Linked DNA regions of Homo sapiens: all the other regions are linked to region 1. Evidence: promoter capture Hi-C in 16 types of primary human blood cells and fetal thymus (Javierre and others, 2016). All regions are on one chromosome and are shown on one strand. The core of a region is centred on a gene start or on the middle of the fragment in contact, and the rest is flanking DNA. Distances in the headings are between cores, read along the strand shown. Region 1 holds the start of GAN (gigaxonin). Region 2 overlaps MPHOSPH6 (M-phase phosphoprotein 6). Region 3 has its middle 38 kb from the start of SDR42E1. Region 4 overlaps PLCG2 (phospholipase C gamma 2). Region 5 overlaps PLCG2 (phospholipase C gamma 2). Region 6 overlaps PLCG2 (phospholipase C gamma 2).

The links. Contacts are between HindIII fragments. The CHiCAGO score rates a contact against its expected background, and 5 or more counts as called.
Region 2: a contact is called between a fragment that was not itself captured here and the fragment with the promoter of GAN in region 1, in 2 of 17 cell types (total B cells and naive B cells). The highest score is 5.3, in total B cells.
Region 3: a fragment that was not itself captured here is called in contact with the fragment with the promoter of GAN in region 1 in 1 of 17 cell types (total B cells); the score reaches 5.2 in total B cells.
Region 4: a fragment that was not itself captured here is called in contact with the fragment with the promoter of GAN in region 1 in 4 of 17 cell types (naive B cells, total B cells, neutrophils and 1 more); the score reaches 6.8 in naive B cells.
Region 5: a fragment that was not itself captured here is called in contact with the fragment with the promoter of GAN in region 1 in 4 of 17 cell types (naive B cells, neutrophils, total B cells and 1 more); the score reaches 8.8 in naive B cells.
Region 6: a fragment that was not itself captured here is called in contact with the fragment with the promoter of GAN in region 1 in 10 of 17 cell types (monocytes, total B cells, neutrophils and 7 more); the score reaches 10.8 in monocytes.

Annotation. Positions count from the first base shown.
Region 1 is chr16:81,312,999-81,317,237 of GRCh38, reverse strand. It overlaps GAN (gigaxonin), which reads right to left and starts at 2,276. Exons shown (of 11, transcript NM_022041.4): 1 at 1,958-2,276. The coding sequence starts at 2,124. RefSeq lists silencers at 1,400-1,669, 1,690-1,749, 1,890-2,229 and an enhancer at 2,240-2,439. The HindIII fragment of the contact is 5,241 bases long and covers 1,184-4,239 here.
Region 2 is chr16:82,159,176-82,163,414 of GRCh38, reverse strand. The region is part of intron 2 of MPHOSPH6 (M-phase phosphoprotein 6); the gene reads left to right. Among named protein-coding and RNA genes, the nearest start is that of MPHOSPH6, 8.9 kb to the left of the region's middle. RefSeq lists cis regulatory regions at 212, 2,615 and enhancers at 140-284, 2,543-2,687. The HindIII fragment of the contact is 3,410 bases long and covers 1-3,409 here.
Region 3 is chr16:81,971,822-81,976,060 of GRCh38, reverse strand. No RefSeq gene overlaps it. Among named protein-coding and RNA genes, the nearest start is that of SDR42E1, 38 kb to the left of the region's middle. RefSeq lists an enhancer at 1-492. The HindIII fragment of the contact is 2,247 bases long and covers 631-2,877 here.
Region 4 is chr16:81,943,607-81,947,845 of GRCh38, reverse strand. PLCG2 (phospholipase C gamma 2) reads right to left here. Exons shown (of 33, transcript NM_002661.5): 31 at 1,583-1,671. Among named protein-coding and RNA genes, the nearest start is that of SDR42E1, 66 kb to the left of the region's middle. The HindIII fragment of the contact is 2,639 bases long and covers 923-3,561 here.
Region 5 is chr16:81,894,887-81,899,125 of GRCh38, reverse strand. PLCG2 (phospholipase C gamma 2) reads right to left here. Exons shown (of 33, transcript NM_002661.5): 13 at 3,199-3,319. Among named protein-coding and RNA genes, the nearest start is that of SDR42E1, 110 kb to the left of the region's middle. The HindIII fragment of the contact is 3,350 bases long and covers 723-4,072 here.
Region 6 is chr16:81,874,498-81,878,736 of GRCh38, reverse strand. The region is part of intron 7 of PLCG2 (phospholipase C gamma 2); the gene reads right to left. Among named protein-coding and RNA genes, the nearest start is that of PLCG2, 97 kb to the right of the region's middle. The HindIII fragment of the contact is 7,218 bases long and covers 1-4,239 here.

The sequences.
Region 1 (4,239 bases), core at 1,027-3,526:
CAGTCATTCATTCAATACATTAACTGATAGGCACAGTTCTTTCTGGGTGCAAAGAGTAAAGCAGTGAATAAAAGAAAACACCGCCGGGTGCCACGGCTCACGCCTGTAATCCCAGCACTTTGGGAGGCCGAGGTGGGCGGATCACGAGGTGAGGAGTTCGAGACCAGCCTGGCCAACATGGTAAAACCCCGACTCTACTAAAAATACAAAAATTATCCGGGCGTGGTGGCGGGCGTTTGTAATCCCAGCTACTCGGGAGGCTGAGGCAGGAGAATCGCTTGAAACTGGAAGGCGGAGGTTGCAGTGGGCCGAGATCACGCCACTGCACTCTAGCCTGGGCTAAAGAGTGAAACTCAGTCTCGAAAAACAAAACAAAACACCACGACCTCATTGAGGTCACACTGTGGTTGGGAAAGACCACCAAAGTAAATGTGTAAAATATGGGGTACGTCAAAGTGGTAAGTGCTATGGAGAAAAACGAACAAGGATAACAAGCAAGGATTCGGCAATTTGCAATTTACTTCTTTTAAGCCAAACGGATGCCATTTAAAGAACTATAACAATAATGCATCTAAAGTAGTTTTCTTCAGCATTTTCCCAAACAGGGAAGACTTTGGTCTGCTGACTCCAATTTGGGATGGGTTGCTCAAACCTCGGAACTGCCAGCTAGAAGCTGTCTGTCACATTAGCAATCCAAATTCTGTACTAACGATGCTACCCCAGACCCTACTGCCGCCCCGCCCCCCCACCCCTCCACACTCCCCACCGCCAAAGAGCGCAAATGGATTCACAAAACAAATCCAAGAGAAACCAGAAGTTACAAGGGCACTTGAATTTCTTCTAAGTTTAGCACAGATATCTCCCCAATGCAAAGGTTAAAAGTGTAGCGTGCGTGGTGGTTTTGCTGGGACAAAGCGCTAAGAATACACATCATTTTGCTTTTTCTGACCTGTCAATTGTAGTGATATTCTCTACCACTAGCTTATATTTAACCAGCTTACTGGTCAGTTTCTCCAGTTTTTAGCATTCCCCCCTTTCCTTTTATTAAAACAGCAACCTAGTTTGCAAGAAGGTTGCTAAAAGAAAAGATAGTCTCCTGCAAGATCTGATACACTTGTATAAGCACTGTCTTATCAACCTTTTAATTAACCTGGTTAGTTGAGTTGGCAAATCAGGTTAAGCTTTGCTTTACTAAAGTATTAAAATGCCCTTTGTCGCAAGGCTCTCACGGTCCTCGGGTTGTAACAGCATCCTGAGAATTCGCTACAGTTTACTTCAACGTGTAACTCCTCTTTTAAACAGTTACCAGAATGGAGCGGAAAAGACACGTTTGGCAAGGAGAATTTCGCCCGGAGGTTCGGACTACCAACCCAAGGAGAACATCGAGAGGGTTTTCTCTGCCTGCACCCAGCGAGGCGCTGTCTGTCTGGCCTCCCAGCGGGCAGGGCGCTCCCCGCCTGGTTGGCGGCGCCGGCCCAGCCCCCGCGCGTGGATTCAGAGGCGAGCGACTGGCGAACTTCAGCGGGGACCGCGGGCCCGGCCTGGGCGAGGGGGTGACTCTTCCCCGGCGCGGCCTCGCCCAGCCCGCAGGTGCGGGTCCCGGCCGGCCCAGGACGGCGTCTGGGGGCCTCAGGGTCTCCGAGGTCGGGCGCTCGCCGCGGCGGTGGGAACCGGGAGGGACAAGGCGGGGGATCGCGGCCCGGGTCCGGGGACAACTCCAAGGGGCGCGGGGGTCCAGTGGGGAGCGCGGGCCTGGAAGCCACAGAGGCCGCCTGGGGGACGCGGTCAGCGGGGCCGGGTTCCGGCGCTTGCCGGGAGGGACGCCGCGCCAACGGTGACGCGGGGACCCCGGCGCCGGGGACAGGGGACAGGGTCTGGGGGCCACGCCCGGCCCGGCCGCCCCGCCTCCGGCTCCGGGCAGCACCGCCGCGCCCGCCCGCCGTAGCCCCCTCCCCACCTGATGTACGGGCTGGCCGCCGCCAGGATGTTCTTCTGCACCGGGATCTCCTCCCCGTCGAGGACCAGGTGCGCGTCGCAGAAGCGAGACTCCTCGCGGAAAGAGCTGAGCGCTCGCAGCAGACGCGCGGCGTGCTGAGGGTCAGACACGGCACTGCCCTCAGCCATCGCGGCGCCCGCTCCTCTGCCGACGGGTCCGGCTCCCGACACCGTCCGGCCGGACCCCTCGAGCGGCCCGAGTCCTGCGCGCGCGCCCGCCCGGCCCGGCTCTCCGCGCTCTGAGCAGAAGCTGGAGCCCCCGGGACGTGCCTGTGCTATCCGCGGCGCGCTGGGCCGGCGCCTTTAAGAAGCCGCGTCATGAAGTCATTTCTCCGCGACGCCCCCGCACCGTCGCTCCCCGCCTTCTCGCCTCCGCTGCTGGAGATGGCCAATCAGAAGCCTCCTTCCTCCGCCCGCCTGACCAGCTGCGGCTGGGTGCAGCGGAAGGTGTCTACGGATGAGATAGGTCGCTCCCGCGATGGAGGGATGTGCGGGCGGGCTAGGATTCCGTGGTTAAGCCTGTGGCCTCTGGAGCCGCGAGTTTGAATCCTGGTTGCAGCTGTTCCACTTACTAGCTCTGTGGCCATGGGTAAGGTGCCCATCCTCAGTTTCTCCGTCTGCAAAATGAAAGCGAATTCTTAGTGTTGTTGTGGACTCATGAGATGATGCATGGAAGCAAGGGCGAAGTCGCTGTAGCTTTCTTTATTTATGAGAGAAAAGGAGCTGCCCAGGTGAGAGGACAAAAACCCGAGAAAACAGACCCGGAAAAGATGGTTTTGGTTGCGGGCTAGGAAGGAGATGTAGCAGATGAAGCTGGAGAAGTCCGAAGGAGGCCTTAAATTTTGCAGGGCCTCCTTGGTGTGGGAAGGAGTTTGGTTTCTGCAGTGGTGAAGAACCATGGAAGTACCGTATTTAGCAGGGGATTTTGTGCAGGTCACTCAGCTCCTGCGTGGAGAATAAGGCGGGGATGGATGTGCTAAAGGCAGATCGATGCTTAGGTATTGCAGGACTAGAGAGAAGGGAATGGGCACCTGGATGAAAGGGTGATGCGGGGGCGGGGGTAGACAATAGTGGATTGTTTTAAAAGAAATTGTGAGGGAGAGGGAGTTAAGGATAAATATTCTGTTTGAGTAACTGCATGCATGTTTGCACCTTTCAGGGAGAGCTAGGAAATGCTGAAGGGGTGGGCAGTAGAGAGGCAGATGTTTAGATTCAGACAGGCTCCCAACCCAGTGAAGATCAAAGCTGTGATAGAAAGGATCGCTGGGTCAGCTCAGCTGGCAGGCCAAGCCCCACGGTATCTGAAGTTTCCCTGGAGGTTGCTCAGGGCACATGGGAGTGTGGAATGTAGCAACCATTTTGTGCAAACGTTAGGGACTCCATAAGCCTCTAAAAAATTAGCAATTGTATGAGGACTCCGGACCAGAAGAATGTGGCTAGCATTCCAGGCAAGACAGGATGGAATTTTCACTGTCCTTCAACCAACTGAAAGGCTCCAATAAAGTCTTGGGTATTTACCCTGAACCAGCCAAGGCTTTGGAGTCACTGGCAGGAATCCGAGTATCTAACTGTTTTCAGGGCAGAATAGATGGGGAGGGTACGGCTGTGGAAGACACATGCATTTCCACTTTCTTCTGTAAATGCAGCTCAGTGTTCCCGGATGCAATGATAAAGATGTCTAGGATTTGCTTCAAAACAAAACAAAGGGATGGGGAAGCAGATGGGAGTGTAGATGAGTCAAAAGTGGCCGCAAGTTACTAATTGTTAAAGCCACGTAATGGGGATGTGGAGATTCGTTGTACTGTCTCTATATTGTTGTGGATGTTTAATGGGGATGTGGAGATTCATTGTACTGTTTCTATATTTTTGTGGATGTTGAAAAATATTTTCTTCTTTCTTTTTTTTTTTTGAGATGGAGTCTCCCTCTATTGCCCAGGCTGGAGTGCAGTTGTGCAATCTCTGTTCACTGCAACCTCCGCCTCCCGGGTTCAAGTGGTTCTCCTGCCTCAGCCTCCCAAGTAGCTGGGACTACAGGCATGTGCCACCATGCCTGGCTAACTTTTGCATCTTTAGTAGAGATGGGGTTTTACCATGTTGGCCAGGCTGGTATCGAACTCCTGACCTTGTGATCCGCCCACCTTGGCTTCCCAAAGTACTGGAATTACAGGCATAAGCCACCACACCCGGCCGAAAAATATATTTAAAAAGGTAAGAAACACACAAGACAAGCAGCTTGGACTTATC
Region 2 (4,239 bases), core at 455-2,954, 850 kb before region 1:
GGCTGGTGCCTGATCAACAATTTTGAATGAAGGAGTGTTGGATTTATTTCATCCATTAATTTAGCTGAATCCTTCTGGAAGCTATTTTTCATTTTTCCCTGATACTTTCCTCACCTTAGTAAGCTCTGTTGTATGGTAGTTTTACTTAAACTTTGGTCAAATGACTGAAGATGCTGCTTACTGTCTTGAGGCACATTTATGTGTTTCCATTCTGTACCTGATGTTTGGGCTTTGATTTGGAATGTTATATTCCCCTGTTCATTTGGCTGACCTCTGGACATTGTTTGAAGGTTAGATACCCTTCTCTAAAGATAGAAAGTATGTCCCACCAGGAGGGATCGGGAGAAGGTACTTTTTTTCTCTGCTTCTCAGAGGAAGCAAGATGTTGGTGAGGAGGGAGAAGATAGTGCCAGGGGCAGGGTCACAGGGAGGAAGGGACCTTTGCTGCTGGAGCTATAATTTACTTTTATGCCTTAAGTAAACTTGCCAAAGTGTTCCTTCCAGTTGTTTATTAAAGAGCAGGACTGTTTCTATCTTGTTTCCAGTATTTTTCCCCTAATACAGCATATTATTCCCAGAAAATGACCTTTACATTTCTTTCTGGGAAGGTAAATAATGCCTTTTTGCCATTACTCAGCATCCTGTTTATGTATAGGTGTGTATATCAGCTCAGGATGTTGGCAGGAGAAGATGACACTCTCAGACTGAGGAGAGACTATCAAGGTGTGGGTGGGGCATAGGGGGGCCCCTCGGGGCAGTGCAGCACCTCCTAGCATGTGTAGTGGGAGTGATTACCACCTGAGCTTGCAGAGTCAACGGGTGGGTGGGGAATAGCTGCTACCGAATCTGCAGATAAGTTGTGTAGAGAGAGCACCTTACAGGAGCTGCTACCTCCATTCACGGGTACGGCCAGCCCAAGGTCATCCTAGCAAGGGAGCCAGGTACCTGGCAGCAAAGGAGCCCTTCCGTGCATTACGTTCAAGTCAGCCTCCCAGGCCAGAGAAACAGGTGAAGACGGGAAGTAGGTCTGGAGGGGTGAATGGATGACATGTCCTTGGTATACGTGTTGTATTGAGTTGTTGTTTTTAACACTCTAAATAGGGAGATCATGGAATGGATTGGTTGATTAAGCACATGGGCTCTGAAGTCAGGCAGACCTGGGTTTGATGCCCAGCTCCGCCAGTTGTTTACTTGTCACCTTGGGTGAGTTACTTAACCTGTTTTGTGTCATTTGTGTATTGGGTATGATGATAGTACCTGTCCAGTACATTCCGAGAAGTAGATGAGGTAATATATGTAAAACAGTCACCATAACACCAGGCATAAAGCACAGTGATTGTCACCATTGTGTGTATTTCCTTATATCTGAATATATGAAGTACACCCATTCCTTTCTACTCACTTATGTTTGTGTATCCTTTTTTGCTAGTGTTGTCTTAACTATTCTGTGAATTTGGAGATTGCATGTGTCTGTGCTCTGAAAGTCTCGACTTTCCCATTTTTAATGTCAGCCGTATCAGTCTGTAATTCAGTGAAGATAATTAGGGCTATTCAGTGTTAACACTGCCTCACAGGGGACACTTTTAGCCAGTGGCTAGACCATGTAGGGGAATGATGATCTAGCTGCTGTGCCTCAACTTGGAACAACTGAAGGGCATTCCTGACTCCAGAGCTCTCATATGTGGCTGAGGCCTTAGTGTAGCCACATTGCCCATTATCTTCTCCCTCTGCCCAATCCTTCTTTCTCTGTTTTCCTAGAAGGGCATCTGCTGAACAACACTGCCTGCTAAGTTTTCTGCATATATGTCTGTCTCAGAGTCTGTTTCCAGGGAACCCGATATAGTGTGAATTCCTAGGAGTGAAATTTACCAGATGAAAGATTTTGCTATCTATTGCCTTATTGTTTTTTTCCCCAAGGATATGGTCCAGAAAGAGTGTGCAAGTATAGGCAGTTTAATTCCTCCTTTGCCGTAGCAAGTTGTTTAAGAAGTATTTTTGGCTATTGTACATCTTATACTTGTGTTTTGTGGTCTGTTTGGAGTCAGAAGCTATAGGGACCTGAAACTAACAAGTTAGCCTGCCACACTTTCACTGATGCTGGTGGAAGATAGGAACCTTCTGGGTCTGAGATGTAGGGGAGGGACAATAGCCTTTCCTTCCACCCATTTGAAGTTCATTAGTTGGGGTCCCTGTAACAAAAGACAGATTAACAAAGAGAAAGGTATACACTTTTATTTCACAAAAGTTTTAGGTGACACAGGAGCCTTCATAAGAAAATGAATACCGAAGAACTGGTTGAACCTGAGTGTTTTTATGTTAGCTTTGATGAAGAGTGGAAAGTTGTGAAGAAATATGATGGGAGCAAGGGGTATGAACGAAGAGTAATAAGCCAGGAGAAACTTAGCAAGTCTTTTGTTCAGATTCCTCTCTCTGTCCCTTCTTCTGAGATAAGGATGTTGCTTTCCTCTGAGTGTAGGGAGGGCACCTCTTATGTGAGATGCTTTTATGACCTGCTTCAGGGGACAGTCAGAAAATCCTACCTGCACGTCATTTTTCAGATTCCTCCAGTGTAAAATTTTCAGTATGCCAAGATGCCATATTTTGGGAGTAGTGTCTCCTGAACACCATCAGAAACAAAGGACTTACTGTACAGCAAGCAGCACAAGCATCAAGTTTGCGTCATTTCTCTTTTGTCCCCAACTCCTATGAGGGATGGCGTGAAGTGGCCCAGGTGGATGCTGTGCACCCAGTGGATTTGCATCATAGCTGAGATCTCCTGAGCTTAGAAAACTGGAACCTTGGATAACGGACCACAAGCAGACTTGCCTTCGGCCCCAAGAGAGGCATCTGTATTATGCTGGACAGTAAGCAAATCTGCCCTTCGCTTTAGAGGAAGACTGTTTTTCAAGGCTGCTCGCTATGCAGATATCCTTGCAAAGATAGTCCAGAGCAACCGGGCAGTTAGTGCCTCACTCAAAAAATGTGCAGGAATGTGAGACCCACTGAGAAGGGTTTTCTAACTGGAGTTTTGCCATGGTATTTGTGGCTTTAGGCAAGTCCAGCTTTTTCTGAGCAGTAGTTTCTCATCTGCGAAATTTATGAAATAATTTTGTGGGTGTGTTTTAGCCTGAAAATTATCCTCATTAATGAAAATTGGATAATTAAAATACAAAAAGAGGTAAGTTTTGAAATATTTCACTTGCTTGCCAACTCTGTAATTAATTTTTCTAATTCTTAAAACCATGCATGTAGATACAAAACACCTGTGCTCCTTTTTATATTAAAGATACGGTGTCAATGCAAACCCGTGGGAAAAACCTCTGAGGGGCCAGTAGTCCTGCTCTGAATCCAGTCCTGACCTCTGGAGGTTGTCTTTCTCTGGGTCCCTCCTTTGCCTTAAGTGAAAGCTTTGATGTATGGTGCTTTCCTGAGAGAGATGATTTACTTTGGAATTGAGGAGGTCTCATCAGCTGCTCCCTCTATAAGGAATAAGATTGGGCAATTGAGAGGGAATCCCAAGTTCATAGAAAAAGCTGAACAGCAAGTTCTGTGCCCAAATTTAGATTCCCTCAGGGAGAGGCGGTTCTGAAGTAAGTGAGTTTCTAGCCAGACTAGAGGGCCAGTGAGAGAGGAACCAAAATCACAGTGGTTCTCAGAGTTTTGGAACTCAGAAGCTATTTGCATTTATAAAAATTATTTAGAACTCCTAGGCCGGGCACGGTGGCTCACACCTGTAATCCCAGCACTTTGGGAGGCCGAGGCAGGCGGATCACGACGTCAGGAGATCGAGACCATCATGGTTAACATGGTGAAACCCCGTCTCTACTAAAAATACAAAAAAAATTAGCCAGGCATGATGGCGTGTGCCTGTAGTCCCAGCTTCTCAGGAGGCTGAGGCAGGAGAATCACTGGAATCCAGGAGGCGGAGGTTGCATTGAGCCGAGATTGCGCTACTGCACTCCAGCCTGGGCAACAGAATGAGACTCCATCTCAAAAAAAAAAATTTATTTAGAACACCTAAAGAGTGTTTTGTGTGATTTATATTTGTTAATATTTACTATGTAAGAAATTTTAAAAATTATTTAAATAACAAATTCATTACCTAACACATTTTTAATGACAAATAACTTTTTCAAGACAAAAAATTTAACGAGAAGAGTGGCACTGTTTTCTGTTTTTGCAAATCTCTTTAACATTGTGGCATAATAGAAGACAGCTAGACTCTGAACGCCTGCAGTC
Region 3 (4,239 bases), core at 505-3,004, 660 kb before region 1:
CAAAGGTCTAGTAGTAGGTTTTATTTTTGTTTGTTTGTTTTTTAATAAATCTGGGTGCTCCAGTGTTGGGTGCATATGCATTTAGGACAGATAAGTCTTCTTGTTACATTGAACCCTTTATCATGTAATGCCTTTTTGTCCTTTTGTTGTTGCTGGTTTAATGTCTGTTTTATCTAAGAATAGTGACCCCCTACTGTTTGTTGTTTTCCATTTACATGACAGATCTTTCTCCATCTCTTTACTTTGAGCCACTGGGTGTGCTTACGTGTGAGGTGGGTGTCTTAAAGACAACAGATGTATGGGTCTTGTTTTTTAATGCAATTTACAAGTGTGTGCCTTTAAAGTGGGGCATTTAGACATTTACATTCAAGATTAATATTGAAGTGTAAGGTTTTGATCCTGTCATGAGGTTTTTAGCTGGTTGCTTTGTAGTTTTTACTTGTGTGCTTGCTTTATAGGGTCTGTGGGCTATGTCCTTAAGTGTGTTTCTTGGGTAGGAGGTATATTTCTTTTGTTTCTATGTTTAAAACTCCCTTAAGATTCTCTTGTAAGGCTGATCTAATGGTAACAAATTCCCTTACTGCTTGCTTGTCTGTAAAAGATTTTATTTTCTCCTTTACTCATAAAGCTTAGATGGGTGCAATATGAAAATCTTGGTGGGAATTTCTTTAAGAATACTGAAAATGGGCCCCCAATCTCTCCTGGCTTGTAAGGTTTCTGCTGCAAGTCTGCTGTTAGCCTGATGGGGTTTCCTTTGTACATGATGTGACATTTTTTTCTAGCTGCCTTTAAGATTTTTTTTCTCTAGCATTGACATTGAACAATCTGGTGACTATATGGCTTGCTGATGTTTGTCTTGTATAGTATCTCACAGGTATTCTCTGGATTTTTAAAATCTGGATGTCTACTTCTTTAGCAAGGTTAGGGAAATTTACTTGAATTACTCCCTTAAATATATTTTCCAGCTTGCTTATTTTTTCTCCTTTTCTCTCGGGAATACCAGTAATTCATAGGTTTGGTCACTTTACATAATCTTATATTTCTCAAAGGTTTTTTGTTCATTCGTTAAAATTGTTTTTTATTTTTGTCTTACTAGATTAGTTTGAAAGACCAGTCTTCAAGCTCTGAAATTCTTTCTTCCATATGGGCCAATTTATTGACAAAGTTTGCAATTGTATTTTGAAATTCCTTAAGTGAGTTTTTCAATTCCAGAAGTTCTGATTGATTGATTTTTTTTTTTTTTTTTTTTTTTTTGTGACAGTGTCTCACCCTGTTTCCCTGGCTGGAGTACAGTGTTATGATCTTGGCTCACTGCAAGCTCTGTCCTGCAGGTTCACACCATTCTGCCTCAGCCTCCAGAGTAGCTGGGACTACAGGTGCCTGCCACCACGCCCAGCTAATTTTTTGGCATTTTTAGTAGAGACGTGGTTTCACTATATTAGCCAGGATTGTCTCAATCTCCTGACCTCATGATCTGCCCGCCTCAGCCTCCCAAAGCTGGGATTATAGGTGTGAGCCACCGCACCCGGCCTGATTTCTTTTTAAGATGTTTATCTCTTCCTTAATTTACTGGATTGATTTAGAAGTTTCTTTGTGTTGATTTTCAGTCTTGCCATGGATCTTGTTGAGCTTCCTTGTAATTCATGTATTGAATTCTTTCTCTGTCATTTCTGCATTTCCATTTTGGTTAGGGACCATTGCTGGAGAGCTAGTGTGATACCACTAAATTCAGATTTTTCATGGTGCCAGAATTCTTGTGCTAGTTCCTTCTCATCTGGAGATGCTGACTCTTCTAATTCTTGTAATTATTTTCATGTGGGTAGGATTTCTTTTCTTTTTCTTTCTCTATAATATTACCGGTTTTTTCTTCTTTCCCTTTCCCTTCCCCACACCACCCCCGCTACTGCCCCCAGGAGTTGTGACTGTAGAGAATGTGGGTAGGGTCTTTTGGCTTTGCTTCTATAACCCTATGCACTACTTTTGGCAGGTTTTGTATTAGGCTTTGTGGTTTGACTTACAAACCAGTAGAGGGTACTTAAGGGTAAGAGGCAGCTGCAGCCAACATGCTGGGTATATACTTGCCCTTTGTTTACTACTAGAAGCTCGCCGTTGCCTCAGGAAATGGGCTGATGCATGGAATGCACAGTCCTCTGAGCTTCCTGCTTAGCCCCAGGAAGAGGGGGGCATGATGGGCAGGACCAGACCAGGTAGGCCTACCTACAGGTCCCCCAGTGGCAGGCACAAGCACCAGTGCTGAGGGAGAATCCAGTGGGCAGCCACCAGATACCCAGAGGTGGGCCTAGGCATGGAGCTGGAAAACCTCCTCAGCCCCAAGTTATCTGTACAGATCAGGGGTCAGCCTAAATTCCTAATTCAGGAGAGTGGGTGCTTCAGCTGCCTAGAGATATGCCTGGGCATGGGACAGAGAGGTCCTCGCTTTACCATCGTCTCTACACAGGAAGGGTGGGCTGGCTCAGACTACTCATTCAGGCAAGGAGGTGCTCTGAATGCCTGGACATCTGCCTGGGCATGGAGCGGAGAGGGCCCTGTTTCACCACAATTTCTGCAGAGGAAGAGTGGGGCAACTCCGGCTGCTGATCCAGGTCAGTGGAGATCTGCCTGGGTGTCAACCAGAGAAGGCCCTGGGGCACTACAATCTTTTTATGAACTAGACATCATCACAGGGGCTGTTTGCCTGTGTTCTTCTACCCAGGATCTGAGGTTTTCTTTACAATTCTAGTGGATTCCAATTTTCCTTCTCCAATTAAAGCTCAGAGAGTTTAGGCACTACTTTGCTATTTCCAAGTGGCTGAGGCATGTTAAAAACCTCTAATCCACCACCTTGGAAAAAAAAAAAACACTAATTCACTAAAAGCTTTTATGTGGCATATGTGTTTCATATTATCAATTTCCTTATGGAAAAGCATAATCTATTAATGTAGAGAACTGCATTGATAGGTTTTCCAATATTAAACCATTACTGGATTCCTGAGATTAACTCTACGTTATGAACAAGTGAACATTGGTTTGCAAATATTTTTCAGGATTTCTACTCTATTTAACAGTGAGATTGGCATCATCCTCCCTCCCTTTCTCTCTGTTCCTTTCACTTTTCTTGATTTTCCCTCTCTTCCTTGATTGTCCTCTACCCTCCTAAAATGAGCTTAGGAGGTCTCTTTTTTTTGGTCTGTCACCTTATAATTTTTATTCAATAAAAATATATTCTGTAGTCAGGAATAGTGGTTCATGCCTGTAATCCCAGCACTTTGGGAGGCCAAGGCAGGAGATAGCTTGAGGCCAAGTTTGAAAACAGCCTGGGCAACATAGCAAGACCCCATCTCTACAGAAAATAAAAAATAAATTATCCAGGCATGTGGCTGCATGCCTTTAGTCCCAGGTATTTAGGTGGCTGAGGTGGGAGGATCATCTGAGCCTAGGCGTTCAAAGTTACAGTGAGTTGTGACCCTAACATTGCACCCCAGCCAGGGTGACATGAGCAAGACCCTGACTCAGAAAGCTTTCACGTGTGTGTGTGTGTGTGTGTGTGTGTGTGTGTGTGTGTGTGTGTTCGTGTGTTCCTTCTCTTTTGGGAACAGAAAGCCCAGACACAGATCATTGAAATTATCCAGCCAGAGGAGCAAAAACAGGAAGAAGAAGAGAAGTGGGGGGAGGGGGAAGAAGGGAGAGGTAAGAGGAGGGGGAAGGAGAGGAAGAGGAAGATGAGGGAAGGAGAAGGAAGGAAGAACAGAAGGAAGGAAGAGGAAGAGAAAAAAGCCTCACAGACTTATAGGACACCATAAGCAGACCAAAATACTCATTATGTTAGTTCCAAAAGTAGAAGAGATAAAGAGACAGAAAGCTTCTTTAAATAAATAATGTCCAAAAACTTGTCAAATCTCTGAAAGAAAATGGACCCAAAGGGAATAAACTCAAAGAAGTCCATATTGAGACATCAGTTGTCAAAAGTCAGAATTTTGAGAGCAACAAAAGGGACTAATTACATACAAGGGAACTCCCATAAGAATCAGTGAATTTCTCAGCAGAAACCTTGCAGGCCAGAAAAGAATGGGACAGTATATTGGGAGTGCTGAAAGGAGGGGGAGAAAAGGTTGTTCAAGAATACTGTATCTGGCAAACTGTCCTTTAAAAGCAAAGGAGAAATAAAGACTTTTTCAGATAAAATTTGAAGAAGTTCATCACCGCTAGGCCTGAATAACAACAAATACTAAAGTTCTTGAA
Region 4 (4,239 bases), core at 993-3,492, 630 kb before region 1:
CAACTCCCCCACCTTTCTTACATCTTAAATAAAATACAGTAGGTAATAAAATGGTGCTAAAAATACTCTTTATAAACTAAACAAACATACTGCTAGCAAAGTAAAGGACTGCGACTTGATAAAGTAATTGTGACATGTAAATGGCTTCTTCAGAAGGTGTGTAAAGTGCTTATTGACAGTTTTCTGGGGCTGTAAACTCTATCTCAGCAAAGGTTTTATGAGTAAACTCCATCTTAGCCCTTACTGGATCAATCATTTGCTCAGAAAAGTCTGCATTGAGGCTGTTTACCAGAGTTTCTCCCTGGCTTCCAGAGGATATGGTGATAAATAAAAGGTATGACCGTGGGCATTAAGGAGAAAGCCCAGGTCTACCGAATGCAATTCAGCTCGGCTTCCAAGAGCGACTCTTCATCCCAGTGTGGACAGAAATGCCGAGCTGCACCTGTGAGTGGCACAGAACCAGGTGACAGATGTGGAATTAAATGAAATCTCAAGACCTAGCAGCTGAACTAAAGAAAACTTTCAGAAAGCAGATTTGTGAGCGTCGACTTTCCATTTAGAACCCCACACAACGCCCCTGGCTCCCTACAGTGGCAGCCCCGGCATTAAGCTTCCCTCATCAAGGAAGTCAAATCTGCATCAACACAATTTTCTTTTAAATATACTAATTTTCTCTGCTGCTGGTGATACCTAATCACTTAAATTATTTATAATGTTTCCGGTTGTTTACAACAGCCTTGCAGAGCAGCGGGCCTAGGCAAATGCTGCCCTACCACAATCTAAAACCATTTTTATCACTTGACTTTTCTGTGAAGTGTCTGCGGAGGGGTTTTATGTATAGAGAGAAGCAGCACTGGTTCCCTTTCCCCGGGCAATAGATGCACAAATCCCAGATCTTCAGTGAGCTGGGGAGGGATAAGCTTCACTAAGCAAAGGGTCTGCTTCACTAAGCAAAGGGTCTTCATGCTCACTGGTTTAAGGCTTCTGCTAAAGCCCAGGTTTTACAGTTTTACCATTCAGCTAAATTAATTGATCCCACTAATTCTATATCTGAGTATTGATCCTAAGGAAAGAATTCTGGCGTAAAGGAGGAAAAAGGTACTCACCTAAAGCTGTGCATGATCGCCTTATTTGTAAATGGATTCCATCTAAATGCTCAGCTTGGGGGGTGATTAATTTATGGTCATTCTACTTGATTGGAGGCTATCAGACTTTTTGATAGGATTCCTAAAGATGCACTGGCACCAAAAAGCATCCAGAAAGGATGAGTCTATCTAGGAAGGCATCATCTGGCCTGGCTCTTGCTGAAGTGAAACTATGGGGAACTTACAAGTACCGGCACCCTTTCCTACACTGCCTACACAGAATCACACAGCATTCTCCAGGAAAGGAGGATGCTGGGAGGGAAAACCCAGGACACTCTGGGGAATTAGCAAAAAGGAATTCTTGTATGATGTCTCATGCTTGGGCTAGACAATTCTGAATGGGCTTAAGTCCATCTGCCAATTGTATTCACGGGCCGTTTCTACCCTCACCAGCAGGCATAGCTCAGGGAACCCTTAACTGGTGTTTCTCCACTCACCAGGACTGGCCGCATCTCACAGAAAACCAGGAGGGAAGCCAGCTCTATGTCCTCGCTGTACCCATTCTTCAGAGGAACGGACCTGAATCCTGAAGCAGAACAAGGAGGAAAATGCAAAGGCAGGTAATTAATGTCAGACCTTAGATTTTTTTTGGAGGCTACCTCGGGATCATAGGCCTAGTTCAAAGGGTAGAGAAGTCAGTGCCCCATGCTGGGGGCTGACTTTGTGGAAGCCAGAGGTCCTATCCTGATGGTTAGGGACAGAGGCCGGCAGCCATGACTGACTGGTCCATACAGGGAAGCAAGGTTAAAAATATCTACCATCTAGAAATAAAAATGATTCACTCAGAAGAAATTAAAACCCACAGAACATTCCACATTGAGTGTAGTGATTGCAGCTGTGGTTCAATTCCTTAAATACTCCTGAGACCAAAAGAGTAGTGAATCCTCATCCATTTCCTCCACTTACAGCCTTACAAAGCACAGGACCAGGGAGTGTGTTTTATCTTTAAAGATTTCCAATGGGAGGAAATCTTTCTGTCCCTTAGTAGTTCATAGCAGTATTGATCTTCCTCCTCCTAAAGCCATTCCCTCTTTACAATTAGGACCTGTCTTTCACAGTCATTTAAATGTTTCTTTTTATTTGGGGCTGAGGGGGGCAAGTTGGAGCCGAATCTCCCCCACCCCCATTCAGTAATGTTTAAGGCAACACATCTCAAAGGTTGGTTTGCTGGCTTGTTTTAGTATAAAAGAACACAGGGCTGAAACAGAACGGTCACTCCCACCCAATCCTCCTCTCTGTCCTAAAAGGAACCATGGTTAACAGTATCTTTCCCAAGATTGCCTATGCATATGTTTGAGTTGCTTTTAATCACAAATGATAGTGCCTTACCCAGTTAGCATTGTATCTCAGAGATGGTTTCTGTGGTCCTAGTTTGTCTTGAAAGCATTTATATCATATCTACTGATTCTCCAAGTAATGCCCAAAATAGGACACTCCCACTGTTTCCTCTGTGCCTTCCACCATTCAGATTTTGGGCTTATTTCTCTTGGAACATTTTATACTCTCAGTTGCTTTATCACCTTCAAACAATATCCACTGAATCTCTCACTTTCCGCTGCTTATGAAGAGGAAGGTCACATTCTTACACAAACCTGTTCCTTTTCTCTCCCCAATTTCTCCTTTTACACCCCTAAGGTGTATTGTCATTTCTGTATGGACATGGTATATAATATTTGCATTCCATTTTGTAACCATAATTCTCCCACAAAGGGAGGCTTATGTTTTTCTGGCATTTTAATATAAAATTCTTAAACATACAGCAACACTAAAAAAAATTACAAGGATTACTTGTATACCCACCACCTAGATTGTACGAAACTTTTACTCTACAGTTGGCCCTTGATATCTATGGGGGACTCGTTCAGGACCTCCCCAGATACCAAAATCCTTGGAGGCTCAAGTCCCTGATATAAAATGACATAGTTGGCCAAGTACGGTGGCTCATGCCTGTAATCCTAGCACTTGGGGAGGGCAAGGCAGGAGGATCACTTGAAGCCAGGAATTCAAGACTAGCCTAGGCAACATAGCAAGACCCCCATCTCTACAAGAAATAAAATAAAATAAAAAATTTAGCTGGGCACAGTGATGCACACCTGTAGTCCCAGCTACTAGGAAGACTGAGGCAGGAGGATTGCTTGAGCCCAGGAGTCTGAGGCTGCCATGAGCTATGATCACACAACACTGAATTTCAGCCTCAGTGACAGAGGGAAGACCTTGTCTCTAAATAATTAATTCAGTGGCGTAGTATTTGCATATAACCTATGCACATCCTCCCATATCCTTTAAATTAGATTACTTTAATACCCAAGACAATATAAATACTGTGTAAATAATCGTTATACTGTATTAAGGAATAAGAAAAAAGTCTGCATATGTTCGATACATAATGTTTTCAAAAATATTTTCAACCCAAGCTTGGTTGGTTGAGTCCACAGATCCAGAGGGCTGACTGTACTTGTTTTGTCATGGATTTATCTACCCATCAATCCATCTTATTTATGTATACAATTCAAAGTATGACAAAGACATCAATATACTTTCCCCAGCATGCATCTCACCACCCAGAGCTCAGTATTACTTTACAGTGTTCCTCTTCTGATACACAATTTTATACATAAGGAAATGTACAAATTTATATTTTTTAATGGCTGGATGCTCATCATCTTACTGAATTCCGTGGATGCCTTCATTGGCTAAATTTGTCCTCTTTTGTTCTCTTCAAAATGAGCCCATGGGACACAGAATTCCTGAGCTGTGCATGTTTGAGAGCATCCATCCTTTGATTTTATACTTGAGTGACAGTTTGAGGGGGTATAAAACCTGAATGTTTTATACCCACTCATTTCCTGGTAGGGTTTATGGGGACATTGCTCTCATTGAATATACTGCTGTAAAGAAGTTTTCTGACCTATTTTTCCCTATCGCTACAATGTGATTTTTGTTGCTAGTTTGTTTTTTGCCTTGATAGAGACTCAGAATTCTTGCAGACTAGCCCAGTGATATGCCAACATTAATGCAAATGTGAATCACCTGTGAATCTTGTTAAAATGCAGATTCTGACTTGGGAAGTCTGGGGTGAGGCCTGAGATTCTGC
Region 5 (4,239 bases), core at 1,148-3,647, 580 kb before region 1:
CCTCCGCCTCCCAAGTTCAAGCAATTCTCCTGCCTCAGCCTCCTGAGTAGCTGAGATTACAGGTATCTGCCAGCATGCCCAGTTAATTTTTTGTATTTTTACTAAAGATAGGGTTTCACCATGTTGGCCAGGCTGCTGGTCTCAAACTCCTGAATTCAGTTGATCCACCCGCCTCAGCCTCCGAAAGTGCTGGGATTACAGGCGTGAGCCACTGTGCCCAGCCTATATTTGTATTTCATTTATACACATATTTACGTTTCCTCCTGAACCATCTGAAATAAGGCGCAGACATCCCCCACAGGTATCTCTTAAGAACATCCCCTGACATCACCACACCATATCACCTCAGGAAACTATCTTTAAATAATGATCATTAGACATACTGATCATTAGACATACTCAAATTTCCCCAGTTATCCAAGAAATATACTGTATAGATGGAGTTTTTCCCACCAAGAATCCATCTGAGGCTTGTGCATGGCATTTACTATGAAACAAAATTATTCTAAAGGCAGCTATGTCACTTCCATAAATAGGAAATCACGTCACTCAATAGAAATGAAGGCAAATGTGAAAATAAAGTGACGATGATAAAAATAAAATCCTTAACCATGTTCCAGCTCAAGTAAATCATAGCCTCATCACTCCTGGGAAGCGTGGACCCAGCTCACTCCCCGATCCTGATCCACACACCCTTACTAGAACATAACAGCTAAAAAGCTTTTACAACAAAGGCTACCTAGTAAGTTGGTATCAAAATGTAACTGACAGCAAAATCTGAACCATTCGAATGAACGCTGCTTGCAATCATTTTCTTAAATCCCTCTTAATACCAATAAGGATGGCTTTTGCTGCCAAAACATTAATGCATTAATGTTTGATTACAGAGTTCTAGCCCTATAGGTGTTAGATGATTCCAGCCCTATTTTAACCAGAAAAAACTTCCTCTAGTCATGAATGAGATAATGTTCGATGAATGACTGTCAGCTCACAACCATAAGCACCTATGTCCTGCAAATGAAAGCAAACTCTCAAAGCAGAGTGTAAGCTGCCACTGCACAGTGTCTGTTAATACCAGCTCCTTCCATCTGCCTGATGGAGGTTGGCACTTAGAAGGGCTAGGACCCCACAGGGGAGAATGCTGCGATGGAGAAATCATATGCCTTCATTGAAAGGTTTTCACCAAGTGCGAAAAGACGTCCATAATTTCATTGTCTCACAGCAACACCTCCACCCAGCTCAAGGGACATCTGCAGTAAATGCAATAAAAATAACCAATCGGGTTGGGCACGGTGGCTCATGCCCATAATCCCCACACTTTGGGAGGTTGAGGCGGGAGGATCACCTGAGGTCATGAGTTCAAGACCAACCTGGCCAACATAGTGAAACCCTATCTCTACCAAAATACACAAATTAGCCGGGCATGATGGTGGATGCCTATAATCCCAGCTACTCGGGAGGCTGAGACAGGGGAATTGCTCGAACTCAGGAGGTGGAGGTTGCAGTGAGCCGAGATCCTGCCATTGCACTCTAGCCTGGGCGACAGAGGGAGACTCCATCTCAAAAAAAAAAAAAAAGAAAAGAAAAGAAAAGAAAAAAAGAGAAAAAATAATCGATCTTATTGACTCAACAGTTACTCTATGCCAGGTGCAGGGTTAAGCACTTGCTGTAATGGCATCTCATTTAATCATCACAACCGCCCTGTGAGGTGCACACAGTTATCACCTCTATTTTTTAACATGGAAATTGAAGCATAGGATGGTAAGTGCTTTGCCCAAACTAGTACTCAACAGCTGGATTCAAACTCAGCGAGAAGGACTCAGAACCCATACTCGTAACTGCTATTCTACCCCAGAAAGTATAAAAAGACAACTATCATTCCAATGAGCCTATAGAAGGCCTCTTGCCAGCTCTCAGAAATAACAAGGAACCCAAACCAGGAGTCGGCATATGATGGCCTCTGCCCCAAATCTGGCCTGCCATCTATTTTTGTAATGTGTAATTCAAGTTTTAACTGGAACACAGCCAGACTCATGTGTTTACCTCTTGCCCATGGCTGCTTTGCACTTCAGCAACAGGGCTGAATAGTTGCAACAGAGACCACAGGGCCCATAAAGCCTGAAACATTTGTATCTGGCTCTTTATAGAACAATTTCGTTGACCTCCAGCCCAGACCAAGATCTTCTGGTGGGACAGAAAAGGATTACACCTGAGGTCAGAAACCCTTGAAATGAACCTAAATGTTCTCACCCATTTAACCCCTCCTTGTCTCAATTTACTCATCTGTTAAATGGGGATGACCATACTCACTTTGTGGCAAAGAATCAATATGATCACCTGTACAAAGAACCTAGCACAGAGCCTGGCCCCAGGTGGGTATTCAAAAAACACACCACCACCATTACTGGCTGCTTGGATTCCGCCTGTAGAAACAGGTTTGGTGGGGGTGAGAACTGGGCACAAAAGAGGGAATTAGGACAGAAGGGGAATTTTACTTTCCTTGCCTCACTTTTTTTTTGGTTTTTGTTTTTTTGGGTTTTTTTCCTTTGAGACAGGGTCTCGCTCTGTTGCCCAGGCTGCAGTGCAGTGGCGCAATGTGACCTCACTGTAACCTCTGCCTGCCAGGTTCAAGCAATCCTCCCACCTCAGCTTCCCAAGTAACTGGGACTACAGGCACATGCCACTACACCCAGATGATTTGTGTGTGTGTGTGTGTGTGTGTGTGTGTGTGTGTGTGTGTGTGTGTGTGTGTGTGTGTGTTTTGGTAGAGAAGGGGTTTCACCATGTTGCCCAGGCTCTTCTCGAACTCCTGACCTCAGTGATCACACCTCAGCCTCCCAAAGTGCCGGGATTACAGGCGTGAGCCACTGCGCCCAGCCTTTCCCTCTCTTTCGGGGGTTCTGAAAGTGGGGGCCAGACAGAATGAGGAGGTGGGGTGGGCACTGAGCAGCCACAGGGTTCCCCAGCCAGAGCCTCCTCGGGGCTCTAGAGCCCGGGAGCAACTTGCACTCTCGGCCTGCAGGGGGTGCCAACACTCGGGTGAGAACTTGATGGCAGTGGCTTTGGCCAAGATGGGGCCCAGGCCTTCCCGCATTTGGAGGGAGGTGTCTGTGTGTGTTTGCCTGTCTGTCCATCTGTCTATCCAACCCTAGCTGCCTTCCCCTTTAAGTCACACCACCCAGAAATCAGCCAACTGACCTCGAGGTAACAAAGGCGTGGTCTTTGATGGCCTGCACGACGTCGTCAAACTTGATCTTGGTAGTCCGCGTCCAGCCATGGTAGATGACCGGCTTCCCATCGGGCCCGTCCCAGCAGTCCACTACAGGGAGAAACGCGGCAGCCTCAATACCACGTGTGTTCACTGACAGCCCCGAGGTCAGCCCCCGGCCCACACACCAGTTCAGTTACTAGACAAGGACACCCACACTCCCTCCATTCGGCTGCCAACACGAGGACATGGCTTTCCCTGTATCCGCAGGGTTCCCTGTGCGCTTACATAATGCAAGTGCAGCTGTCCAAGACAAGCTAGTTTCAATGCTGCTTTTTTTTTCATTTTTTTTTTTTTTAAGACAGAGTCTCGCTCTGTTGCCCAGGCTGGAGTGCAGTGGCACAATCTCGGCCCATTGCAATCTCCGCCTCCCGGGTTGAAGCAATTCCCCTGCCTCAGCCTCCTGAGTAACTGGGACTACAGGCGCGTACCATCACGCTCGGCTAATTTTTTTGTATTTTAGTAGAGACAGGGTTGCACCATGTTGGCCAGGGTGGTCTCAATCTCCTGACCTCATGATCCATCCACCTCAGCTTCCCAAAGTGCTGAGATTACAGGCGTGAGCCACCACGCCCAACCTCAATGCTTCTTTTTAAAGAAGATTTTACCACGTGTTTTATTTTCTGACTTTACCTGTTGAAAACCTTGACTGCCTTTTCTGCCCGTGGAAATGATACAGAGCAATGAGAAATTTATTTGTAAAGGTTCACAGTAATATTTTCAAACAGAAATGGGTCATGTGGAAGATGAACATCCCCAATCTTTTGGACCCCTGGAGGGCACAGGAGCTGACTGCTTCAAGCTTTACTTTTAAACATTTGTTTTTTCCTGAGGGAGGAGAAAAATCATAAACGGGAAGAAAGTCTATAGAGTAACTGCTACAAAACGTTGCTTCCATGATGAGTCGTTTTGGTAACACTGGAGCCTAAGTCAGTAGTTGATGCCTTTTTTATTTTATTTATTTATTTTTT
Region 6 (4,239 bases), core at 536-3,035, 560 kb before region 1:
CGTGCTGCTGAGTGGACAAGATAAAGACCACGGGGCAGACTTCTGGATTCGCAACACATGGAGGTGATGGCTGACGTGCCAAGATGAAGTGCTCTAGGAGGCAGGGATGGAAACAAGACGGGAATAGACTCAAGAGACAGTAGGAAGAAGGGAAGCGTAGACAGCTCTTGGAGTAGGTTACTTTAAAGGGGGCAGATAAATGGGGCTGTAGTTGACAGTATGGGGCACAGGTGATCAAGGAAGACGTTCTAAAGATAGAAAAAGTTATAGCTAGTATTATGTATAGGATGGTGTCCCCGGGAATATATGTCCAAGTCCTAATACCCAGTACCCATGGGCATGACCTTCTTTGGAATTAGGGTCTTTGCAAGGTGCAATCAAGTTAAGATGAGGCCTTGCTGGGTTAGGGTGGACCCGAATCCAGTGCCTGGCTTCTTAAAAGAGGGAGATTTGGGCCGGGCACGGTGGCTCACACCTGTAATCCCAGCACTTTGTGAGGCCGAGGCAGGCGGATCACTAGGTCAGGAGATGGAGACCATCCTGGCTAACACAGTGAAACCCCATCTCTACTAAAAAAATACAAAAAATTAGCCAGGCGTGGTGGTGGGCGCCTGTAGTCCCCAGCTACTCGGGAGGCTGAGGCAGAAGAATGGCGTGAACCCGGGAGGCAGAGCTTGCAGTGAGCCGAGATGGCGCCACTACACTCCAGCCTGGGTGACAGAGCGAGACTCCCTCTCAAAAAAAAAAAAAAAAAAAAAAAAAATTAAAAAAAAAAGAGGGAGATTTGGAGACAGAGAAGCACACAGAGAAAAGGGGTCCATGTGATGATGGAGGCAGAGACTGGCACAATGACATCTACAAGCCAAGGAGCGATGCAATGACATCTACAAGCCAAGGAGCGATGCAATGACATCTACAAGCCAAGGAGCGATGCAATGACATCTACAAGCCAAGGAGCGATGCAATGACATCTACACGCCAAGAAGCGATGACGCCTACATGCCGAGGAGTGATGGTGTCTGCACACCAAAGAGCAATGCCATCTACACACCGAGGAACACTTGTAGGACTGCTGGCAGCCACCAGCAGCCAGGCGGTGTCCACACTCCGAGGAATGCTTGAAGCATTGCTGGCAGCCACTAGAAGCCATGAAAGATGTCTGGAACACATCCTTCCCTGGAGCCTTCCGAGGGGTGTGGCCCTGCCAACACCTGGATTTTGGACTTTTAACCTCCAGTACAGTGAGGGAATAAACTTCTGTGTTTTGTTGTTTTGTTTGTTTGAGACGGAGTCTCGCTGTGTCGCCCAGGCTGGAGTGCAGTGGCGCAATCTCGGCTCACTGTAAGTTCCGCCTCCAGGTTCACGCCATTCTCCTGCCTCAGCCTCCCAAGTAGCTGGGACTACAGGCACCCGCCACTATGCCCAGCTAATTTTTTTTGTATTTTTAGTAGAGACAGGGTTTCACCGTGTCAGCCAGGATGGTCTCGATCTCCTGACCTCGCGATCCGCCCGCCTTGGCCTCCCAAAGTGCTGGGATTACAGGCGTGAGCCACCGTGCCCGACACTTCTGTTATTTTTAAGCCACGAGTTGCAGTACTTGCCACAGCGGCCCCAGGAAATGAACATGGGCTCCATGAGCTGGGGCAAGACGGTGACAGTCTCAGTCACTCCTCCTGCTGATCCCATCAGGTAGTAAAATAAGCCCCATTTCAGAAACAAGAAACAGGCCCAGGGAGGCAAGGACTTTTCTCCTAACAAGTCCAAGGGCCAGAATTTCAACCCAGGCCCACCTTGGTAAATCTCTAGCATCCCACACTACACGTACATATGTACACACAATAAATGAGATTCCAGCAATCACAGAATATTCTAGATGCTACGGGTGCACCGTGGAGGCAGCAGTTAATTTATGTTCGGCATTACCATGGAGGGTTATGTGGTCAGATTCTACCTAACCAAGGGACAGGGGTGGCACTGGGCCTTATGTCACTCTGGGCAACATCCCAGGACCTTCCCACCCCAGCAAAGGGCCAGTGAGGTCAGGAGAAACAGCTGTATTGTTAACCACTGTGCCTCTTGGGTCACGCACACATTTACTGGATGAGTGACTAAAATAATAGATAAACTAATTTCTTCTGGTAGCTAAAAGGCTACAGGGAAATGTCATCTCTGAGTCGGGCCCCAGGAGAAGTTACCAGCTGGACAAGAGAAGGGGCCATGCCAGAGGCGGGGGTCACAGAAGCAGGGGCCAGGGCACTAAGAAAGGGAGGGAAAGGAATGGAGTTTTCCCACGTGGCTGAAGGCACACGCCCTTTCACAACCGAAGCTGGTCTTACGCACTCAGTGGTACTTAGGCTGTAGAAACCATTTGGTTCTGGAAGGCCAAGGGTAAAATCTCATCAATAGAAAAGCTAGGCCAGGCACAGTGGCTCATGTCTATAATCCCAGCACTATGGGAGGCCAAGGCGGGTGGATCACTTGAGCCCAGGAGTTCAAGCCTAGCCTGGGTAACATGGTGAAACTGTCTCTACAAAAAATACAAAAATTAGCCTGCATGGTGGCACACGCCTGTGGTCCCAGGTACTCCGGAGGCTGAGGTGGGAGAATCATCTGAGCCAGGGAGTTCGAGGCTGCAGTGAGCCATGATTGTACCACTGCACCCCAGCCTCGGTGACAAAGTGAGACCCTGTCTCAAAAACAAAAAAAAAAAAAAAAAAAAAGAAAGAAAAAGAAAAGCTAACCAGAGATTCTATCTAACTTCTCCACTGTGGACTCTCCTCTTGCCAGCCACTGACAATAAGAATAAACTGCAAGATCTCTGAGCTCCTCCACAAACATCGTCACAGAACGCTCATCACTCACTTCCCCCATGCTCACACCCATGTAAAATCCGGCAGAATAATCCTTCAATGCCTTACTGGATCATAGGAACAACCAGAGATACGTTAGCAGCCTTCTCAATTTTCTTTTTGATTTTTTGCAAGTGCTTTCTATTTTTATGTAAGAATGCTGTAACCACAGGGGACTTCACAGGTTTGATCAGGAGGTAGCAGGGTAGCAGTCACGTAGCCAGGTATTAAATTACAGTATTGGCAGATGACCTGATACGCTGCTTGATGTCTGCTGCAAAGTGTGAGAAAAGGGACTTGGGTGAGGGCAGTGACAAGGTGATAATGGCTGAAGTCAGCTGATGATACATGGGGGTCTGTTACGCTATTCTCTCTACTTCTATATGCTTTACATTTTCTTTAATACAAAGGATTCAAAAATTAAGAAGTATTCCATGGCTATGCGTCAAAGTTGGGCAGAAAATCAAATCCTAGCTCTGCAGCTTACTACCCTGCAGTAAACAGGCCTTCAGCAAAGTAACCTCTCTGGACCTCAGTTTCTTAATCCCTAAAATGGCAATAACAACAGTAGCTCTTGCACAGGCCTCTAGGGGGGAATTAAATGTATACAAAACACATAGAGCAGGTTGGGCATGATGGCTCACACCTGTAATCCCAGCACCTTGGGAGGCCAAGGCGGGAGGATCACCTGAGGTCAGGAGTTCGAGACTAGCCTGGCCAACACGGTGAAACCCCGTTTCAATTAAAAATACAAAAATTAGCCAGGCGTGATGGTGCATGCCTGTAATCCCAGCTACTCAGAAGGCTGAGGCAGGAGAATCGCTTGAACCCGGAAGGAAGAGGTTGCAGTGAATCAAGATCGTGCCATTGCACTCCAGCCTGGGCAACAGAGAAAGACTCTGTCTCAAATAAAAAAAAAAAAAAAAAAAAAAAAAAAAACACATAGGATAGTGCCTAGCAAATAGTCCACCTGAGAAAATGTTGGCTATCATCTTTGTTAATGATACTGTTATTACAGCCTAGTTAGAGGTATATCCCCTCACCAGGGAGACACAAACGTGAGATTACATTTCTTATCCTCCTGCTGCTGCCAAACTTTTGGAAACTCTGAAGCTCGAGAGGTGGAACGTAGGCAGGTGGTTAGACACAAAGAGGAACTAGCAAGCTCACGATGGAAACCATTTGGCTGCTGATAAGCATGAACCCACTCCCTGGATTTAGTTCTGGGGATTATAAGTCACCATAAATAGCTCTGTCTCCTGCAGGAGCCTGAGAAATCCAGCTAGGCCCTCATTCCCCCCAAATCACAAAACAGGTACTTTTCTCTGCCCTGTGCTTCCAGCCAGGAACAGGAAGTAAACAATTTGCTAACAGGTTAGGGGATGGGCAT